Regions from separate parts of the Homo sapiens genome. Here region 1 is linked to region 2. Evidence: promoter capture Hi-C in human tissues and cell types (Jung and others, 2019). All regions are on one chromosome and are shown on one strand. The core of a region is centred on a gene start or on the middle of the fragment in contact, and the rest is flanking DNA. Distances in the headings are between cores, read along the strand shown. Region 1 has its middle 5.4 kb from the start of SLC3A2. Region 2 holds the start of GANAB (glucosidase II alpha subunit).

What was found. The method cuts DNA at HindIII sites, captures the fragments that hold promoters and counts their contacts. A contact is called where the count stands out against the background at its distance.
Region 1: a contact is called between a fragment that was not itself captured here and the fragment with the promoter of GANAB in region 2, in 1 of the 25 tissues and cell types used here (spleen).

The regions. Positions count from the first base shown.
Region 1 is chr11:62,872,669-62,878,369 of GRCh38, forward strand. It overlaps a transcript of SLC3A2 not described here. Among named protein-coding and RNA genes, the nearest start is that of SLC3A2, 5.4 kb to the right of the region's middle. The HindIII fragment of the contact is 8,872 bases long and covers 1-5,701 here.
Region 2 is chr11:62,642,571-62,648,357 of GRCh38, forward strand. GANAB (glucosidase II alpha subunit) reads right to left here and starts at 4,043. Exons shown (of 24, transcript NM_198334.3): 1 at 3,992-4,043. The coding sequence starts at 4,029. It overlaps INTS5 (integrator complex subunit 5), which reads right to left. Exons shown (of 2, transcript NM_030628.2): 2 at 4,278-5,787. The coding sequence ends at 4,450. RefSeq lists enhancers at 2,242-3,049, 3,365-3,524 and a silencer at 4,135-4,214. The HindIII fragment of the contact is 17,220 bases long and covers 1-5,787 here.

The sequences.
Region 1 (5,701 bases), core at 1,280-3,779, 230 kb after region 2:
CTCGGCTCACTGCAACCTCTGCCTCCCCGGTTCAAGTGATTCTCCTGCCTTATTCTCCTGAGTAGCTAGGATTACAGGCATGTGCCACCACACCTGGCTAATTTTGTATTTTTAGTAGAGATGGGGTTTCTCCATGTTGGTCAGGCTGGTGTTTAACTCCTGCCCTCAGGTGATCCGCCCGCCTTGGCCTCCCAAAGTGTTGGGATTACAGGCGTGAGCCACTGTGCCTGGCCTAACCAATTTTTTAGTTGCAGAATGAGTGATATTTCAAATTCAATTTTCTGTTACAGCATACCATACTCTAAATATCTACTTCTCAATATTTTATATTCTCTTTCACCTTATTGATTATAAAATATATATATATTTTTCAGACAGGGTCTCGCTCTGTGGCCTTGGCTGGAGTGCAGTGGTGTGATCTCAGCTTACTGCACCCTCAACTTCCCAGGCTCAAGTGATACCTCCCACCTCAGCCTCCCGAGTAGCTGGGACTACAGGCATGTGCAACCACACTCAGCTAATTTAAAAAATTTTTTGTGGCCGGGCCTGGTGGCTCACGTCTGTAATCCTAGCATTTTGGGAGGCCAAGTCGGGCAGATCATGAGGTCAGGAGTTCGAGAACAGCCTGGCCAACATTAGTGAAACCCCGTCTCTACTAAAAATACAAAAATTAGCCGGGCATGGTGGTGGGCCCCTGTAGTCCCAGGTACTCTGGGAGGCTGAGGCAGGAGAATCACTTGAACCTGGGAGGCAGAGGTTGCAGTGAGCCGAGATCGCACCACTGCACACCAGCCAGGGTGACAGTGCGAAACTCTGTCTCAAAAAAAAAAAAAAATTTTGTACAGACAAGGTCTCACTATATTGCCCAATCTGGTCTTGAACTCCTGGGATCAAGTAATCCTCCTACCTTGGCCTTGCAAAGTGCTGGGAGTACTAGGTGTGAGCCACCACACCCGGCCAGCTAATTAAAATCAAACTTTTTTTTATAGAGACACGGGGTCTTGCTACGTGGCCCTGTCTGGTCTCAAACTTCTGGGCTCTAATGATTCTCCCATTTTGGCCTCCCAAATTACAGGCGTGAGCCATGGCACCTGGCCAGGCTCATCAGTTATTTGTTTTTTTGTTTATTTCTAATTTTTATTTTAATTATTTTAGACCAGTTCTAGCTCTGTTGCCCAGGCTAGAGTGCAGTGGTGCAATCATAACTCACTGTAGCTTCAACCTCCTGGGCTCAAGTGGTCCCTCCCACCTCAGCTTCCCAAGTAGCTGGGACCCCAGGTACTTGCACCATGCCCAGCTAATTTTTTTTTTTTTTTTTTTTTTTTTTTTTTTTTTTTTGGAGAAAGAGTCTCAAATAATTTATGTAGATCTTCCCTCTGCCCAGAGATACAGAGTTTAACTCTGTACATCTTGAGTGCAGGCTGCGCTTAGTGATTCTCTTCCTCAGAGTGTGATGACAAAGTTTTGGAGGGCCAGGGGAGGGAGAAAATGAGGATGCAGTATTGTGTGATCATGACTGCAGAAATAGCTGCTGTTGGAGGGCCTCAGTGATCATTTTAAGGTCTCTTATTGCTACTTATCTTTTTTGATGAGATTAAGTATTCTGTCTCTGATCAGTTGAATATCTGATGTCATTAATCCAAGGATAATATGTTAAAAGTACTACCCCATATTTTCCACATACTGACCTGCTATTTCTCTGGTGTTTATCTTTTAGTATTTGGTTTCATTTGAGAGAATGGCTTGCTGCAATGTTTTTCATTTGTCTAACTTACTTGAATACTGGATACTTTTCAGATGGTGCATTTATTTCTCTTCTCCTAAGAGATGACTTTGGTTCTATTTCTTTCACTCTTTCTGGCTTTTATCCCCACTTTGCATTCTTCACCCTTTAGTAAGACAACCCTGACAGGTCTCTTCTTTAGCAGCCAGTGTCCCTCCTATAGGATTCATAGTAACAATTAATAGTATTCTGACATGGGTTCTTCAGATAGTAGCTGCGAAGTGAACTGCTTTAGTTGGAGTCTTTTTCTCTGCTTTAATTTCAGCCACGCTTTGACTTCCAAATGCTCAATTCCTCACCCATCTTTCCTTTTTCTTTTTCTTTTTTTTTTTTTTGGAGACAGAGTCTTGCTCTGTCACCGAGGCTGGAGTGCAGTGTAATCTCAGCTTACTGCAACCTCCGCCTCCCAGGTTGAAGGGATTCTCCTGCCTCAGCCAAGTAGCTGGGATTACAGGCACCCGCCATCGTGTGCGACTAATTTTTGTATTTTTAGTAGAGATGGGGATTTGCCATGTTGGCCAAGCTGGTCTCGAATTCCTGACTTCAAATGATCTGCCCGCCTCATTCTTCCAAAATGCTGGGATTACAGGCATGAGCCACCACACTGGCCTCATTTTTCAAATGGCTAAAATCTTCAAGATTTCTGGCTGATTGGTATTTTAGAGGCAGCTTTGATGTTTTGTTTCTGGGTCTTTGGAATAGAGTCTTGGGCTTTCGAAGATTTATGGAGGCTGTTGGACAGAGACAGTCTCCTGAAGAGTTTCTAGCTGTCCTCCCATCTTCTCTCTGCCTTTAGAAATCCTTCTTAGATGTGGCCGGGCACGGTGGCTCACGCCTGTAATCCCAGCACTTTGGGAGGCCGAGGCGAGTGGATCACGAGATCAGGAGATCAAGACCATCCTGGCTAACATGGTGAAACCCCGTCTCTACTAAAAATACACAAAAAAATCAAAATTAGCTGGGCGTGGTGGTGGGCACCTGGAGTCCGCAGGAGAATAGTGTGAACCTTGGAAGGCAGAGCTTGTAGTGAGCTGAGATCGCACCACTGTACTCCAGCCTGGGCGACAGAGCGAGACTTCATCTCAAAAAAAAAAGTCCTTCTTAGATGTTTTTAGTTGTTTGTTTATTTTTCGAGATGGAGTTTTGCTCTTGTTGCCCAGGCTGAAGTGCAATGGCACGATCTGGGCCCATTGCAACCTCTGCCTCCCAGGTTCAAGCGATTCTCCTGCCTCAGCCTCCTGAGTAGCTGGGATTACAGGCAGCCACCACCATGCCCAGCTCATTTTTGTATTTTTAGTAGAGATGGGGTTTCACCACGTTGGCCAGGCTGGTCTCAAACTCCTGACCTCAGGTGATCCGCCCGCCTCAGCCTCTCAAAGTGCTGGGATTGCAGGCATGAGCCACTGCGCCCAGCCTGTTTGTTTGTTTTCAGATAGGGTCACCCTGTCAGCCAGGCTGGAATGCAATGGTGTGATTGTGATCACAGCTCACTGCTGCCTCAACCTGAGGGCTCAAGTGATCCTCCCACTTCAGCCTCCTTAGTAACTGGGACCACAGGGGTGAGCCACCATGCCTGGCTAATTTGTTAATTTTTGTAGAGATGGGGTCTCCCTATGTTGCCGAGGCTGGTCTCAAACTACTGGGCTTAAGTGATCCTCCTGCCTTAGCTTCCCAGAGCGCTGGGATTAAAGGCATGAGCTGCTGTGCCTGGTCAATCCTTTTTACATGTTTGAGGAAAAATAAATGTCCTGTTTTCAGGCTAAGATCAAGTAATAATCCTCATGTGTTAGGAAGCATGTGACATGGATTTTTGCAGCAGAGGGTTAGAAAGGAACTTTCTTTATATACTTGGCCCCCTGCATTTCAGGGCTCCACCGCCATCTGTCTGTCTGAGTGTAAAGTGGACCTTATTGGCATCTGGGCTGCCAAACTGCTTTTTTTCCTTTGCTTTGCCCAGCCTTCTCTTGAAGGCTAAATTCTTGAAAAATTATATTCTTTGTGTTCCTATAGTAAATATTAAGCTTTATATCAACACATATGGCAGGATCTGAGGCTCTTTACTCACCTCTGGTCCATTTCTCTAGTCTTTTCTCTGTAGTCTTTTTGTTTTCCTGTCCTCCATCTCCTAATTTATTAGTTTTATTATTATATTTTATATTATTTTTTTGAGACAGAGTTTTGCTCTTGTTGCCCAGGCTGGAGTGCAATGGCGCGATCTTGGCTCACTGCAATCCCTGCCTCATGGGTTCAAGTGATTTGTCTGCCACAGCCTCCTGAGTAGCTGAAATTACAGGCACGCACCACCATACCTGGCTAATTTTTGTATTTTTAGTAGAAACGGGGTTTCACCATGTTAGCCAGGCTGATATTGAATTCCTGACCTCAATTGATCCGACTGCCTCGGCCTCCGGAAGTGCTGGGATTACAGGTGAGCCACAGTGCCTGGCAGTTTGTTTTATTTTGGTTGAACAGTTACAAGTCTTGGTTTGTTTTCCTGCAGCAACAGGTTTATCTTGATATGATACAGCGTTATTTAAATTCCTTTTCATTTTCCTGCCTTTGTCTTCACATGCTAGTTTTTTTCAGTTGTTTCTTTTTTCTTCTTCCTTTTCTTTTTTTTTTTTTTTGAGAGATAGTCTTGCTGTGTTGTCCAGGTTGCAGTACAGTGGTGCGATCTGGGCTCACTGCAACCTCTGCCTCCTGGGTTCAAGTGATTCTCTCACCTCAGCCTCCGGAGTAGCTGGGATTACAGGTGCCCACCACCACGCCTGGCTAATTTTTGTATTTTTAGTAGAGACAGCGTTTCACCATGTTGGCCAGGCTGGTCTTGAACTCCTGACCTCAATTGATCTGCCTGCCTTGGTCTCCCAAAGTGCTGATTACAGGTGTGATCCACCGTGCCTAGCCTGTTTAGTTGTTTCTAAGAAGGGAGATATTGGTTTTGATTGACATAGTTCATCCACTTATTTACCAAACACTTGCGAAGTGCCTACTATATGCTGCCTCCGAATAGGCAGGTTCGTCCACAATAGCACAAGGCTCCTGCCACTTGTCTTCAAGGACAAAGAGACATCCAGACAAACAAATGTAATAAACAAATGGGACATGATTGTAGCAGAGGCAGATGCATGGTGGAGGGAAAGTAATTTTGTCTGGGGAGTTGAGAAAAGCTGTCACTTGAGCTAGATCTTGAATGAATAGGAACTCATGAGGTTGAGTGGACAAACAGGAAGGGCCAACAGCAGAGGTATGGCATGTACAAGATGCAGAGCTCTGCCTGAAAAAGCCTGGTGTGTTGTGAGTCTGGCAGGTGTTTGAAGGCTGATGTGGCTGGAGGCTAGTGCCTGTGAAGCAGGTGGTGGCTGATAAGATTGGAGAGGCAAGCTGTTATCCTCTTTATGCATGCAGAAGGAATTGACTTCAGGCTGGGCACAGTGGCTCATGCCTGTAATCCCAGCACTTTGGGAGGCTGAGGCGGGCAGATCACCTGAAGTTAGGAGTTCAAGACCAGCCTGGCCAACATGGTGAAACCCTGTCTCTCCTAAAAATACAAAATTAGCCGGGTGTGGCGGTGCACGCCTCCTATAATCTCAACTACTGGGGAGGCTCAGGAAGAAGAATCGCTTGAACCTGAGAGGCACAGGTTGCAGTGAGCTGAGATCGCGCCACTGCACTCCATGCTGGGTGACAGTGTGAGACCCTGTCTCAAAAAAAAAAAAACAAAAAACAAAAGGAATTGACTTCAGCCATTTGGAGCCATGAGGATCTGTGAGTGAGATACTGTGTCATGTTGGACCATCTCAAAGACAGCTTCTGACCCCACAGTTCTCAACCTTGTTCTTACTTATTTTTAGAGACAGGGTCTCGCTCTGTCTCCTAGGCTGGTATGCAGTGGTGCCACCATGGCTCACTGCAGCC
Region 2 (5,787 bases), core at 2,793-5,292:
ATTACAGGTGCCCACCACCATGCCCAGCTAATTTTTTGTATTTTTAGTAGAGACGGGGTTTCATCATGTTGGCCAGGCTCGTATCGAACTCCTGACCTAGATCCGCCCGTCTCAGTCTCCCACAGTGCTGGGATTACAGGCGTTGTGTCATCGCGCCCCACTGGCTAAAGTTTTTTTAAAGTTCCCTAAACAACTCTAATGAGCAACCTGGGTTCACAACCACTTCTTTACATGCATCTTCTTTTCCCTTTCTTCCATTGTTTTCTTGGTGAATATAGGGTTGGGGTTTATTTCCAGATGGGAAAATTAAAGCATAAAAGGTTGAATAGTTCACCCAAGATTAAATAGCTGGTAAGGGATGAAACGAACTGAACCCAGTTGTGCTTGACTCTGGGGCCCATGTGCTTTACCATGATGCACAATACAGCACACTAATCACTAGCAGGATGAAATGGGCCTGTCTCATTGAGGACCATCATCCCAAGGTTATCACGAATTGTCAATTTCCCAATGTGCTATGAAATGACAGATAAGAGACTAATAGGCTTATTTAAATAAGTTAGTTTGAAGAATATATTCATCCAGGATTCATCCTTAGGATTCTGAATAAATCCTAAACAGAGATTCTCAAATTTTAATGTCTGTTAAGAATCAGCCAGGCATGGTAGCTCACACCTATAATCTTGGCACTTTGGGAGGCCCAGGTGGGCAGATCACGAGATCAGGAGTTAGACCAGCCTGGCCAACATGGCGAAACTCCATCTCTACTAAAAATACAAAAATTAGGCCGGGCGTGGTGGCTCACACCTGTAATCCCAGCTCTTTGTGAAGCTGAGGCGGGTGGATCACCTGAGGTCAGGAGTTTGAGGCCAGCCTGGCCAACATGATGAAACCCCGTCTCTACTAAAAATACAAAAAAAAAATTAACAGGGCATGGTGGCACACGCCTGCAGTCCCAGCTACTCAGGAGGCTGAGGCAGGAAAATTGCTTGAACCCGGGAGGCAGAGGTTGCAGTGAGCCAAGGTTGTGCCACTGCATTCCAGCCTGGGCGACACAGCGAAACACCACCTAGAAAAAAATAGATATATACAAAAATTAGCCAGGCGTAGTGGCACATGCCTATAATCCCAGCTACTGGGGAGGCTGAGGAACGAGAATGGTTTGAGCCTGGGAGTCAGAGGTTGCAGTGAGCTGAGATCGCACCACTGCACTCTAGCCTGGGTGACAAAGTGTGACTCTGTCTCAAAAACAAGAAAAAAAAGTTGCCCAGGCTTGTCTTGAACTTCTAGGCTAAAGCCATCTTTCCACCTTGGCCTTCCAAAATGCTGGAATTACAGGCGTGAGCCACTGCACCCACCCTGGATACCGCATTTTATTTTTAATTTTTTTTGAAACTGAGTTTCACTCTTGTTGCCCATGCTGGAGTGCAATGGCACGATCTTGGCTCACCGCAACCTCTGCCTCGCGGGTTCAAGCAATTCTCCTGCCTCTGCCTCCCAAGTAGCTGGGATTACAGGCGCGTGCCACCACACTCGGCTAATTTTGTATTTTTAGTAGAGACGGGGTTTCTCTGTGTTGGTCAGGCTGGTCTCGAACTCCCAACCTCAGGTGATTCGCCAGCCTCGGCCTCCCAAAGTGCTGGGATTACAGGTGTGAGCCATCGTGCCCGGCTGACACCACATTTTAAACATGCTCTCCCAGTGACACTGATATGGGCAGAATACGAGCATACTCTGAGAAAGTGTTTCAAACTGGGGGTGGGAGGGTTCTTCTAAGCAATAAAGTTTTACAACCAGCCAGGCACAGTGGCTCACGTCTATAATCCTAGCACTTTGGGAGGTCAAAAAGGGAAGATTGGGCAACACAGCAAGACCTCGTCTCTACTTAAAAAAAAAAAAGAGTAGCAAGGCATGGTGGCAGGTGCCTGTAGTCCCAGCTAATCAGGAGGCTGAAGCCGGAGGACTGCCTGAACGCAAGAGTTTGAGGCTGCATGAGCTACGATTGCACCACTGCTCTCCAGCCTGGGCCACAGCACAAGACTCTGTCTCAAAAAAGTAAATTAATTAAGACTGGTCAATGGGGTGTCTACTAAAAATACAAAAATTAGCTGGGCACGGTGGCACACGTCTGTAATCCCAGGACTCGGGAGGATGAGGCAGGAGAATCGCTTGAACTCGGGAGGTGGAAGCTGGAGTAAGCCGAGATTGCACCCCTGCACTCCATCCTAGGCAACAGAGCGAGACCCTGTTTCAATAAGTAAACAAACAAATAAATAAATAAATAAAATTTGACAACCTATAATAAGGTAACTAAAGACAGGGTCTATTATACACATTGTATCTAGTTATCTAGCATTAGCTTCAGCATCTGCTTGAAAGCTAAAAGAAAATTACCAGAAATGAGATCACAGAGTGTACTATGATCTCATCACAGGACTCTCCTCCAGCTCCAGAGGAATGTACGAAACAACTGTTCCACAGCAGGCCAGACAGAAAAATGAAGAAAACACTAGGCACTGTGGTTTAATAGGCCAAGCAGAATAAATGCTACCACAAAACTCCATAGCAAGGCATGCGGCACAGGTCCTGCAGTGAGTGACCTGAGTGACTGCAACAGGCACTCTTGGCCACTGACCCACGTCCACCTGCCAAAAGCAGCAGTAAATAGAAGTACAGTGAGTTGAGGCCGGGCGCGGTGGCTCACGCCTGTAATCCCAGCACTTTGGGAGGCCGAGGCGGGTGGATCACGAGGTCAAGAGATCGAGATCATCCTCACCAACATAGTGAAACCCCGTCTCTACTAAAAATACAAAAAAATAGCCAGGCGTGGTGGCGGGTGCCTGTAGTCCCAGCTACTCGGGAGGCTGAGGCAGGAGAATGGCGTGAACCCAGGAGGCGGAGCTTGCAGTGAGCCGAGATCTCGCCACTGCACTCCAGCCTGGGCAACAGAGCGAGACTCTGTCTCTCAAAAAAAAAAAAAAAAGACGTACAGTGAGTTAAATACCCTCTGGGGCCCTATTTGCACAGTCTGTAAAATTGGTTCGGAAAGATGCCAATGGAGATAGGATTCCTAAAGCATCTTTCAGATATGACCTGTTGGAGGGCCCTAAGGAATTCACGGCGGCCTTGACCACCCCAAGAGAGGTGTTCATAGGCCAAAGTCAGGAATAAGCTGCAGGGCAAGTTGCACGCATTTATTGTTTCAGATCACAGGCTCCGAGGGAACTGAGTTTATGATCCACGCTTTCTTCATCGCTTTGGAGAGTACACGCCTACCCCACCCCAGTATATCCGTTAGGTCCTAGTAAACATTTGTGGCACTGGTGATATGTTTCGAATCTTTTTTTTTCCCCAGTAATATAAACCCGAGAGCGTGGACCAAGCCATTCGATTACATGTTGTGTTTGAGCAACACCATCCACGCCGTGAGCTTACTGGACCCTGGGCCGTGCCCAGCGACCGTGGACACTGAACTAAGCCAGAGCTGGTGCTCACGTGAAGACAAGGGCAGAGGAGGATTCGGAGCTCTACAGGGTAGAGCCAGAAGGGTAGTACAGGCTTAACTGCTGGCCCGGTGCTTCCAGCTCAGCCGAGGGGCCGCGGGGCCGCAGGCTGCATTCCCCGAGGCCAGGCCGCATCTTTTCCCCCGCCCCGACGACCCCGCGCACTGCAGGAAGGGGGCGGCGACGTTGACCGCCGCAAGCAGCCAAAGGAGGGCGGCGGCTGAGAGCGGCCAAGACCAAGAAAGACGCACAGCTGTGGCTTTACTAAACCGCCGGGCGGGAGCCCGGAGCCCCACAGGCAAGGCCCCCAGCGTCGCTCGGATCTACCACGGGGAGACCGGAGGCGTCTGAGGCCGCCTCCAGAGGAACAAAGGTTCCTCACGAGGCCGGGGGTGGCAGAGTGTCAAGAGACACACAGGAAGGAGTGGAATGGGACTTGGGGGATCTGGGGGCGTCCCGGGCGCGCCCCCAGATTCCGGGCTCCTCACCGCCTCCTACGCGCCGCCACTGCCGCTACCGCCGCCATCTTGTGCAGAGTTTGCTCCTTGACCCCAAACCTCCCGCCCCATCGCGCGCGCTCAGCCACGTATCCTAGTTCCCGCCCCTTCCGGCCTTATGATTGGTTCGACCTGAGCGCCGCCGGGCAGCTGTCTCATTGGTAGAGTGCGCACTCCAAATTATCGCAGGGGGCGGGGCTTCAGGCCAGGGGCGGGAACGTCCAGAGCCAGGCGCTGTCAGACTTTGCACGCTCTCAGCATGACAGAAGCACTGGACTGGTTTTCTCAAGTTGGCAAATTTTATTTAGAAAAAAAAAAGTGGGAGAGAAAAAAGTGACAGCGCTCTTTAGACCAAGGACTTAGAAGAGAAACCTCCACCCTTCCGGAGCACGTTAGTCCCTTCCCTCTCTCACTGCTCAACCTCCCTGGGCTTCCAGAGCAAGAAAAGGCTACGTCCCCTGTCGAAGGAGAGTGGACGGTGAAGGTGCCTGGAAACGGCCAGAGAAAAGACCTAGGCGGTCGATGTTGCGGTGGAGGACACTGTGCAGCACAGCCAGATGGGGTCCACCCTCACCTCCACCCTCCCTGGAGAAGTCCCGAATGAAGCGACCCCGCTCTGATTGGAAGATGAACTTCTGAGGCAAGGGCCCATGCTCCCGGAGAAAACCCCAGACACTGAGCAGCAGCAGACGCACCTCGAAAGGTGCCAGTTGGCTAAATACTTCATGCATATTACCCAGGGCCGGAGGCAGGAGGCTTCCCTCAGCCATGACAGCCACTAAGGTGCAGGATGCCTCCAGGTGCCAGGGGGAGTGGGTCGTGTCAGGGTGGCGAGAGGCTTCCCAATGGCCCAAGAGGGCGGCCAGCAGCCCCCGAAGCAGCACGGAACAGTAGCACAGGGCTGGGGGTGCAGCTGCTACCAGCTTTAACAGCTCAAAGAGCAGGGGCTGTTCGCGGAAGCGCCGGCCAATGCGGAGATCCCGCTCCACGGTGGCCCGGGCGTGTTCCTCGGGGGGCCAGGCCAGCTCTGCACCAGCTGCATCGGGACACACACTCTCCACCAAGGTCACTGCCACTGCTTTGGCTGCCTCTGGACTCAAGATGGGTGCCCCCCAGCATTCCCCACATTCAGTGCCCCCTGGGGCACTGCAGCAGTGAACCAGGAGGCTGAGGAGGCTCTGGGTGTTATAGATCACTTCCTGCTGATTTCGTGACTGGACAAACTTGGGTGGCTTTAAGCCACGGCCGATGACTCCAGCATGGAAAACTGACCAAATCCCTCCAGGACCTGGCACAGCTGCAGTGTGCCTCCGGTTAGTGTCCAACAGGGAGGCAGAAGCCAAAGAAGCTGAAACAACTGAGAGAGTCTCATTGTCCCCATCTACTTGCCCACCAAACAGTTCTGTGTTGCCTCGATGTAAGGCTCCTTCAACCAGCAGCTGCAGGACAGCCTTGAGCCCAGCTGGGGATGTCTGAGACAGGCGGGTGAGAAGCTGACAGGCTGAGGCCACACCTGGGGGTCCATGCAGCCTCAGAGAGGCAAAGAAGCGGTGCACCCCAGCCCTTACCAGTCCCAGGAGCTGGGAGGGGGATAAGGCTTCAGAAGGAAAGGGACAAATGGCCAGGAGAGAGGCAGCAGCTTCAGCTACTTCCTCCTCAGGATGTAGCAGGAGAGGAGCCAGGTCAGACAGATGGGCTGAGGCAGATTCCCCAAAGTGCGCCCCTAGGGCTGCAGGGCCCTCGCCACCCTGCTGTTCCCACCCTACTAGCAGTGCCAAGTTGCGCAG